Regions from separate parts of the Homo sapiens genome. Here regions 1 and 3 are each linked to region 2. The links are contacts of gene promoters, found by promoter capture Hi-C in human tissues and cell types (Jung and others, 2019). All regions are on one chromosome and are shown on one strand. Each heading gives the region's core, a stretch centred on a gene start or on the middle of the fragment in contact. The rest is flanking DNA. Distances are from core to core; before and after follow the strand shown.

Region 1 (2,818 bases), core at 69-2,568, 140 kb before region 2:
CTAGATTGTCTTTCTGCATTATTTACTAGAACTAGATTTTACAAGAAAGTACACAAGTCAGCCAAAGAGAAGGTTCAGAAGCCTGACCGTAGTTTGTTCAAGGGAAAAAGAGGCATTCTTCCCTTAAGTTTATTTCTCCTCCAGTTTGCTCATTTATGACTAGCAAAACCATCTGCTTGTACCTGGTGCAGGTTGCTAATTGTATTGTGAGATCAATGAGACATTTAATGAGAGGGATACCCATAAAGAAAAACAGAATGATAAATATTAGAGGCTGCTCTGCTGGGTTTTTTTTCTTCCAAGAAGGAAGCTTAGAAGCAGTGTTAGCACACCTCTCCCACTTGAAAGGACAGAATAGCATGTAGAGATTTATGCTGTGAACTTTTTTCAAGAAGCAACACAGGAACTTAACAAGAAAACTGAAAGAAGCACAGGCTGTTTGAAAGAAGTGGCAGGCTACAGCCTACACTGTGAAACAGCCAAAAAACTCTAAGTCCCCAAAGTGTGAGAAGGGGACAGACTGCATCCAGGATACACATCCCCATCAGGGAACGTGAAATCCAGGCCATGGGGGAAGGCCTTTACCCTACCCAGAGCTGGGACTGATTTAGGGAATAGTGAGAAATATAAAAGTAGAGGCAGTAGTGGAAAGCACCTTGCAGGCATTCCCAATCTCTAGCATGGACTGAGGGAAACCATTCATTCCTTATTATACCTCACAGGGACTCAGGGAAGTCAGCCAAGTAGCTCAGACAGTGGTCACAGTTTGAAAGAAGCCTCCAGTTGAATTTTGGGATATAATATTGAGTGGGAGCAAACTCCCTTGGCCAGAACCCAGGGGCAAGTGGGAAGTACACTGCAGCCATGAGTGCAGGAGCCAGGCTGCCAAGGCTGCCTGGAGCTTAGCTCAGTGCTGCTAGCAGAACACTTCAGGAGTGAGAACAACTTTGCCAACTGTGTGGGATCTGGGTGAGGCTTACTGCCACCTGCTACTCTTTACTCCCTGTGCAAACTCTCTTCTGTGCAACAGAGGCAGTTACACTCCCCTCTGGAGCATTACCCCAGCAGCCTGATAAATGCCCTCTGACCCTCAGAGAAGCTGCAGCTTGCCACTCATGTGGAGAGTCAGAGCACAGCCCCAACCTGGCTGTGCCCCTCCACCCTCCCTGGTAGTGTAACACAAATGACAGAAACATTTAGGAGCTTTATGGCCCTGCCCATCACCTGAGAAACCAGAATATCTCCTCTGGGCAAAGCAGGGAAAGCTCAAATCCTGCTACTATTACAGGAGCAGGTACTCTTTGGCAAGTGCTACCTCCTGGCTGGAGGCCAGCCAACACAGTCCACTACAGCATCTCTAGATAGAATAAGAGTGTGCCCAGAAATAAGAAAACTGGTATCTGACCTCAGCTACCACCACTGCCTGCAACACACTGGCTAACCAGGAGGTCTGAGTCTGTCCACATGCCGAGTTCACTACCATCATAATCAACATTCAAGAAAAACAACACACTAAGGCTATCTATAATCAAGGATTCTCACAAAGTCTACATCACTCCCCTGCCACTCCCATCACAGCCAGTACTGGTACCAACTGCTGTGGTTTTGAGGAAAGGTAACATCACTAGAACCCTCACAGACTTTCCCCAGCACCAGCCTGGAGTATAGCAGCCCCACCGGGTGGTTAGACCCAGAAGAACAATCACTATAGTCTGGCTCTCAGGAACTCATACTCCTAGAGTATGGGAGAGAGCACCTCATCAATGGAACACCCCATGGGACAAAACAATCCAGTTCTTCTGGGTGAATATCTGTCTCAAAATGCAACCATGTCAACATTTCCCTGGTCAGCTATTTTTTTTCTGTAATTCCATATATGTTCAACTAGTATGAAATCTGTGCATATTGGAACCACGCAATGCCAAGACTGCCTACACTTACTTTTGAACTGATTGTCTAGGTTCCTAATAAAGAAGTCTCTACCTACCATGAAGGACCCTGAAGCAAAGAAGACAAAATTCTCAACAGAATCAGGAGCATCTCTATAAAAATTCTATTGTTTCCTTAACTTGAGTTATTAAAATACCTGGGACAAAAGAATCTGGATGGCAAGCCTTAAATCCCAGATTTTTCCACTGGTGGGAAGTTTCTTTCAGCAGAGACACAATTGCAGTGCTGGGCTCAGGAGGGAAATTTTGCAGCTCTACTTTAACAGTCAGGCAGCCTTGGTGCTCATGAAAGATCTTACAGAAGGGGAATTCTTTCCTTCCTTGTCCGCCACTGCAGACACAGCTGGGGCTTCTCCCATGGGAGCTCAGCATGGGTGCACCTATAGAGAGTGTCAGGCCTCTGAGCCCAAGCCAAGCCATCGCATCCCCTGTGACTTGCACGTATACGCCCAGATGGCCTGAAGTAACTGAAGAATCACAAAAGAAGTGAATATGCCCTGCCCCACCTTAACTGATGACATTCCACCACAAAAGAAGTGTAAATGGCCGGTCCTTGCCTTAAGTGATGACATTACCTTGTGAAAGTCCTTTTCCTGGCTCATCCTGGCTCAAAAAGCACCCCCACTGAGCACCTTGCAACCCCCACTCCTGCCCGCCAGAGAACAAACCCCCTTTGACTGTAATTTTCCTTTACCTACCCAAATCCTATAAAATGGCCCCACCCTTATCTCCCTTTGCTGACTCTCTTTTCGGACTCAGCCCGCCTGCACCCAGGTGAAATAAACAGCCATGTTGCTCACACAAAGCCTGTTTGGTCTCTTCACATGGACGCACATGAAAGAGAGTCTTCCTGGAACACTTCAGAGTAC
Region 2 (2,896 bases), core at 217-2,716:
TCAAATGTTTAATGACTATATTTTCATCTACAAACATACATTTTTCTATGAATAGCAATATCAACCTGAAACTAGAATTCTGAAGATTAAATCAGATAGGAGAGAAGAATAGTGCAAGAGAGCCTTGAGTCACTTTGACCAGTAAAGAGCTGAAATAAATGGAGTCCGTTTCAAAATGTGTTATATTTTACTATGGTCATCATAATATAAAAGGAAACATATGAGAGAAAAATGTGATAGAATTCTTTCTGTTTTAGCCTGTTCCCCAAGTGTTTTAAATGTACTAAAAAATCTTCCCTTTTATAGTGTCCATGCTGGCACCTCCATCATGATGTCACTTATAGGTATATCTGTTGCCAGATCAGCAATCAGCAATTCCAAAAGTGATGTTCACCCATGTGTGGAGGTACCAGAAGGCCATGGCTCAGAAGCTAAAAAAATCAGTGCTACACAGGTGTGGTATAATGAAGAGAAGATCAGAGGGGATCCAGAGTCTGATGAAGCGTATTTGAGGGTTAATAGGGAGAAAATCTCCTAATCAATGATGTTAACTCTTAACAAAAGAGAACTTCACTGGTTGAATTACAATAGCAGATAGGAGGGTAAAAATAGCAACTTGAGATTGTTAAACCTGTGTTTGTAAGTTACATAAATAACAACAATACCTGAAGTTAGACCCCAATGAATTCATTTCTACTAGATATGCTGGATAACAAAAAGAATTTTCTGAATCAAACCTAATAAACTACAATTTCCAAAGCACCAACTATATGCAAGATGCTATGCAAGTTGTAGTGGAAAACTTAAAATAATAAGAGCAGAAAACGTGGTCCCAGTCTTTGGGGGGGGATTTTTAAAAACTTATGAAACAGGATTGACTACATGTCAAATGAAAGAGCCACATAGATGGGGAGACTCTCATGCCCTAAATGGAATCATGTTGTTTGACCTAGTTGTATACTGGTATGATTTGGGAAACTTTTCATTCACTCTTTACACAATGAAAGACTAGTTTTCTTCCTAGTTCGCCAACAAAGTAAATAAAAAGAATACATTATCATTGCCTTACAATTCTAAAAGCAGAACAATATCTTCTATGTGAAACAGAAGGCTAGATCAAAATAAATTTCAGTGTCAAAAGCAAAGGAGGTCTTTAAAGGAAGTGAAAAAATCAAGTTAATTCACTTCTTAATTACTGGCCTTAAAGAAATAAATTGAATATCTTGAAAAAATAACTCAAAAAGCACCTCAGTTTCACGAGCAAATGCAAATTAAAAAAACCACAACCACAACCAACCAACACCAATCAGAGTGGTGCTCCTTGTGTGCCCTTTCTGAGGATTGGTAGAAACTGCATTTTTTAATCTCGGCTTTCATGTTTGTCCAAGATCTTTAAAGGGAGGGGAAAAAAGAGAGAGAGAGGCAGGCACTGTATAAAAGAAGCTTCCTTGAGGTTTCTAAAATTTATACAAAAACATCATATGTAAGTAAACTCACCAGATTTGGCATCTGCTCTTTGGTGATGGACCCAGAAGAAACTTCAGTTTATTTGGATTATTACTATGCTACGAGCCCAAACTCTGACATCAGGGAGACCCACTCCCATGTTCCTTACACCTCTGTCTTCCTTCCAGTCTTTTACACAGCTGTGTTCCTGACTGGAGTGCTGGGGAACCTTGTTCTCATGGGAGCGTTGCATTTCAAACCCGGCAGCCGAAGACTGATCGACATCTTTATCATCAATCTGGCTGCCTCTGACTTCATTTTTCTTGTCACATTGCCTCTCTGGGTGGATAAAGAAGCATCTCTAGGACTGTGGAGGACGGGCTCCTTCCTGTGCAAAGGGAGCTCCTACATGATCTCCGTCAATATGCACTGCAGTGTCCTCCTGCTCACTTGCATGAGTGTTGACCGCTACCTGGCCATTGTGTGGCCAGTCGTATCCAGGAAATTCAGAAGGACAGACTGTGCATATGTAGTCTGTGCCAGCATCTGGTTTATCTCCTGCCTGCTGGGGTTGCCTACTCTTCTGTCCAGGGAGCTCACGCTGATTGATGATAAGCCATACTGTGCAGAGAAAAAGGCAACTCCAATTAAACTCATATGGTCCCTGGTGGCCTTAATTTTCACCTTTTTTGTCCCTTTGTTGAGCATTGTGACCTGCTACTGTTGCATTGCAAGGAAGCTGTGTGCCCATTACCAGCAATCAGGAAAGCACAACAAAAAGCTGAAGAAATCTATAAAGATCATCTTTATTGTCGTGGCAGCCTTTCTTGTCTCCTGGCTGCCCTTCAATACTTTCAAGTTCCTGGCCATTGTCTCTGGGTTGCGGCAAGAACACTATTTACCCTCAGCTATTCTTCAGCTTGGTATGGAGGTGAGTGGACCCTTGGCATTTGCCAACAGCTGTGTCAACCCTTTCATTTACTATATCTTCGACAGCTACATCCGCCGGGCCATTGTCCACTGCTTGTGCCCTTGCCTGAAAAACTATGACTTTGGGAGTAGCACTGAGACATCAGATAGTCACCTCACTAAGGCTCTCTCCACCTTCATTCATGCAGAAGATTTTGCCAGGAGGAGGAAGAGGTCTGTGTCACTCTAAAGGGAACTGTGACATTTCAAGCTCTGTTGGTGGGTTTAGGAGTTAATTTTTGTCAGCAACAAAGAAGGAAGTGTTAATGATAGGATTCACATTGCTTCATAGATGCAAGGAAGAGTTCATTTTTAAAGAGAGGACTGAAAAATCCCTGTGTTGTGGATATAATTAGGCCATGTGCTGTTTTCTCAGCTAAGCAGCCTTCTTCGACCCTTGCCAATCAAGTCCACCAGACAAAATCCAATTCCCATCTGTCCTTGAACTCCTGGATAAAGGCTCCTGCTTGAACCAGTCCCT
Region 3 (2,700 bases), core at 150-2,649, 180 kb after region 2:
GTTAAGTGAGCTCAGAGACAGCTTGTTCAGTTCTTCACTCGGCTATGATCAAAGCTATACGTTTCACATAATAGCCATAATAGATAACACTTTATAAATACAACCTCGTTTAATCCTCAAAGTTACCCAATGAGGAAGATTGTATTATTATCCTCATTTCACAGGTGATGAAAGTGAGATGTAGGTCCTATGTCCGAGTCACCTAACTTCAAAACCTATTCCATAAATCAGAGGATCACAAAAAGTCTTCACATCAGAAGGGTGCTTGGTCAAAAACATAGATTTCTAGGCAGCCAACTCAGAGATTCTGACTGAGTAAATGTGGAGTGAAGCCCAGTAATCTGTTTTTTAACAAATGTCTCTGTTGAAGCAAGAGTTTAAATCTTTACAATGCTACTCTATAATTTTGTATATTCTGCTTGGCACAGCCCTTTCTCAATTCTTAGTTCTAATTAATCACTCCTTCCACTGGATTCCTGTTCTCATGCCTGGTGCAGCAGGAACCGCATTGTGTTAAAATCAGCTCTCTTTTTCCTTTTTTTTTTTTTTTTAGACAGAGTCTCTCTGTTGCCCAGGCTGGAGTGCAGTGGCACGATCTCTGCCCACTGCAATCCCTGCCTCCAGGTTCAAGTGATTCTCGTGCCTCAGCCTCCCAAAAAGCTGGAACTACAGGCGTCTGCCACCATGCCCGGCTAATTTTTGTATTTTTAGCAGAGACAGGGTTTCACCATGTTGGTCAGGCTGGTGTCGAACACTTGACCTCAAGCAATCCACCCACCTCAGCCTCCTAAAGTGTTGGGATTAAAGGTGTGAGCCACCATGCGCGGCCAAAATGAGCTCTTTTTATGTCTGTCTCCCTGACTAGATGGGGAGCTACTTGATGTCCAGGATCCTGTTTCTTCTTTCTTTCTTTTTCCTGGGTTGCTCATTCCATTAATCTTTACGTAGCTGGGTTCTCCTCATCATTTAGACCTCAACTTGAAAGTTCCCTCCTCAGAGAAGTCTGTTCTGATAACGCAATCAAGAAGCCCTCCAGTCATTCTCTGTCATATCCCATTTCCTCATCTAGTGTAAAGCACAGCAGATGCTCAACTGCAACTGGATTACCCAAATGCAGCTTAAATACATTCTTAGGACACCAAAAACAGAGGCATCAAAAGAACTTTTTTTAAGTTAAAAAGTGGTTATTTTTAAACTACAGAAAAAGTCATTTGAAAATTATCAGGATCTTGCTGGTCTCCCACTTACATTATGGACTAGTATTATTTTTATATAGAATTACATATTGAGTATGGACTCTATAACATTTTTGAACTTTGAGTCTCTAAAGGTTTTAATCTGGCACTCTGCATAGTACCTGCTTATCAATATCTTTGTTTTCCAAAACATATTGAAAATATGTTGGATGGGTATCATTATCCAGTCTTACCTCGAAGAGGTTAAAAAACAGAAGCACAAAAAAGAACAGAAAAAACATTGAACTGATTTTTTATTTTATTTTTTGAGATGGAGTCTTGCTCTGTCTCCTAGGCTGGAGTGCAGTAGGGCAATCTCAGCTCACCGCAAGCTCCACCTCCCAGGTTCACACCATTCTCCTGCCTCAGCCTCCCCAACAGCTGGGACTACAGGCACACGCTGCCACGCCTGGCTAATTTTTTGTATTTTTAGTAGAGATGGGGTTTCACCGTGTTAGCCAGGATGGTCTTGATCTCCTGACCTTGTGATCCGCCAGCCTTGGCCTTCCAAAGTGCTGGGATTACAGGCGTGAGCCACCGCACCCGTCCCGAACTGATTTTTTGGAATCCTTCCTGAATTTGAGCATTTTACTGGGAATAGAATATTAGACTAATAAATTGAGCATTGAACAATGCCCAAAGAGTATGTTCTTTCCTTGCAAAAAGCCTCTTGAGCATTAAAGAATCTACTCTCCAGAGGTTTAATTTGGGCAAGACCCTCACCACGATGAGTTCACTTCATTTTTCTTACTCATGAAATATGGGAACCAAACTAGATAACCTGTAAGATGTGGACCACCTAAGCATTAGACAATTCTACCTTGAGACGTTAAAAAAAAAAAAAGTGCGTGACTCAAGATTTTTTACCAGAAACTCTTCTTCCCCTGATTAAGGTGACTCATCATTCTATCAAAGAAAGAAATGATCTGGCATTATTTATACTCCTCAGGGTCCCACTTGTTATTCTGCTGGGGCTTGAGTTTGTCTCATATGAGACTAGTCTTTGATTTTCTGCATTCTTTAGGATAAATTTAGATGGCACTGGGCTCCATATCCACAGCCGCCAGCATGGTCCAAGCCATTGTCATCTCTTGCCTCAGGTCCTGCAGTAGTCTCCAGACTGGCTTTTCTGCTTCCACTCTTGCATCATTGTAATTCTTTCTCCAAGTAGACCTCAGAGTGATTTTTTAAAAAATATGTCAGATTCAATCACTCCTTGCGTAAAATATTTTATTTACTTCCTTTCGCATTTAGAATCAAATCCCAATTCCTTACCCTTGCCTTCGAGGCCCTGCGTGATGAACGATCTAGCTCCTACCTCCTCTTTGGCTTCCTTGCCCATTACGCTCCCCTCGTATGATATGCTCCAGCCAGACCGATCTGCTGGTTCTTCCCTGCACATGCCAGGCTCATTCATACTATTATAAATAAAGTTTCAGTGCCGCAAAAGAAATAGCGCTCGAAT

The links. The method cuts DNA at HindIII sites, captures the fragments that hold promoters and counts their contacts. A contact is called where the count stands out against the background at its distance.
Region 1: a contact is called between a fragment that was not itself captured here and the fragment with the promoter of GPR15 in region 2, in 2 of the 25 tissues and cell types used here (heart left ventricle and mesendoderm cells).
Region 3: a fragment that was not itself captured here is called in contact with the fragment with the promoter of GPR15 in region 2 in 1 of the 25 tissues and cell types used here (H1 embryonic stem cells).

What each region holds. Positions count from the first base shown.
Region 1 is chr3:98,394,410-98,397,227 of GRCh38, forward strand. No RefSeq gene overlaps it. Among named protein-coding and RNA genes, the nearest start is that of OR5K3, 5.2 kb to the left of the region's middle. RefSeq lists an enhancer at 2,113-2,715. The HindIII fragment of the contact is 7,160 bases long and covers 1-2,818 here.
Region 2 is chr3:98,530,512-98,533,407 of GRCh38, forward strand. It overlaps GPR15 (G protein-coupled receptor 15), which reads left to right and starts at 1,467. Exons shown (of 1, transcript NM_005290.4): 1 at 1,467-2,896. The coding sequence starts at 1,523. The coding sequence ends at 2,605. RefSeq lists a silencer at 1,328-1,487. The HindIII fragment of the contact is 5,385 bases long and covers 1-2,287 here.
Region 3 is chr3:98,710,584-98,713,283 of GRCh38, forward strand. No RefSeq gene overlaps it. Among named protein-coding and RNA genes, the nearest start is that of ST3GAL6-AS1, 21 kb to the right of the region's middle. The HindIII fragment of the contact is 7,906 bases long and covers 1-2,700 here.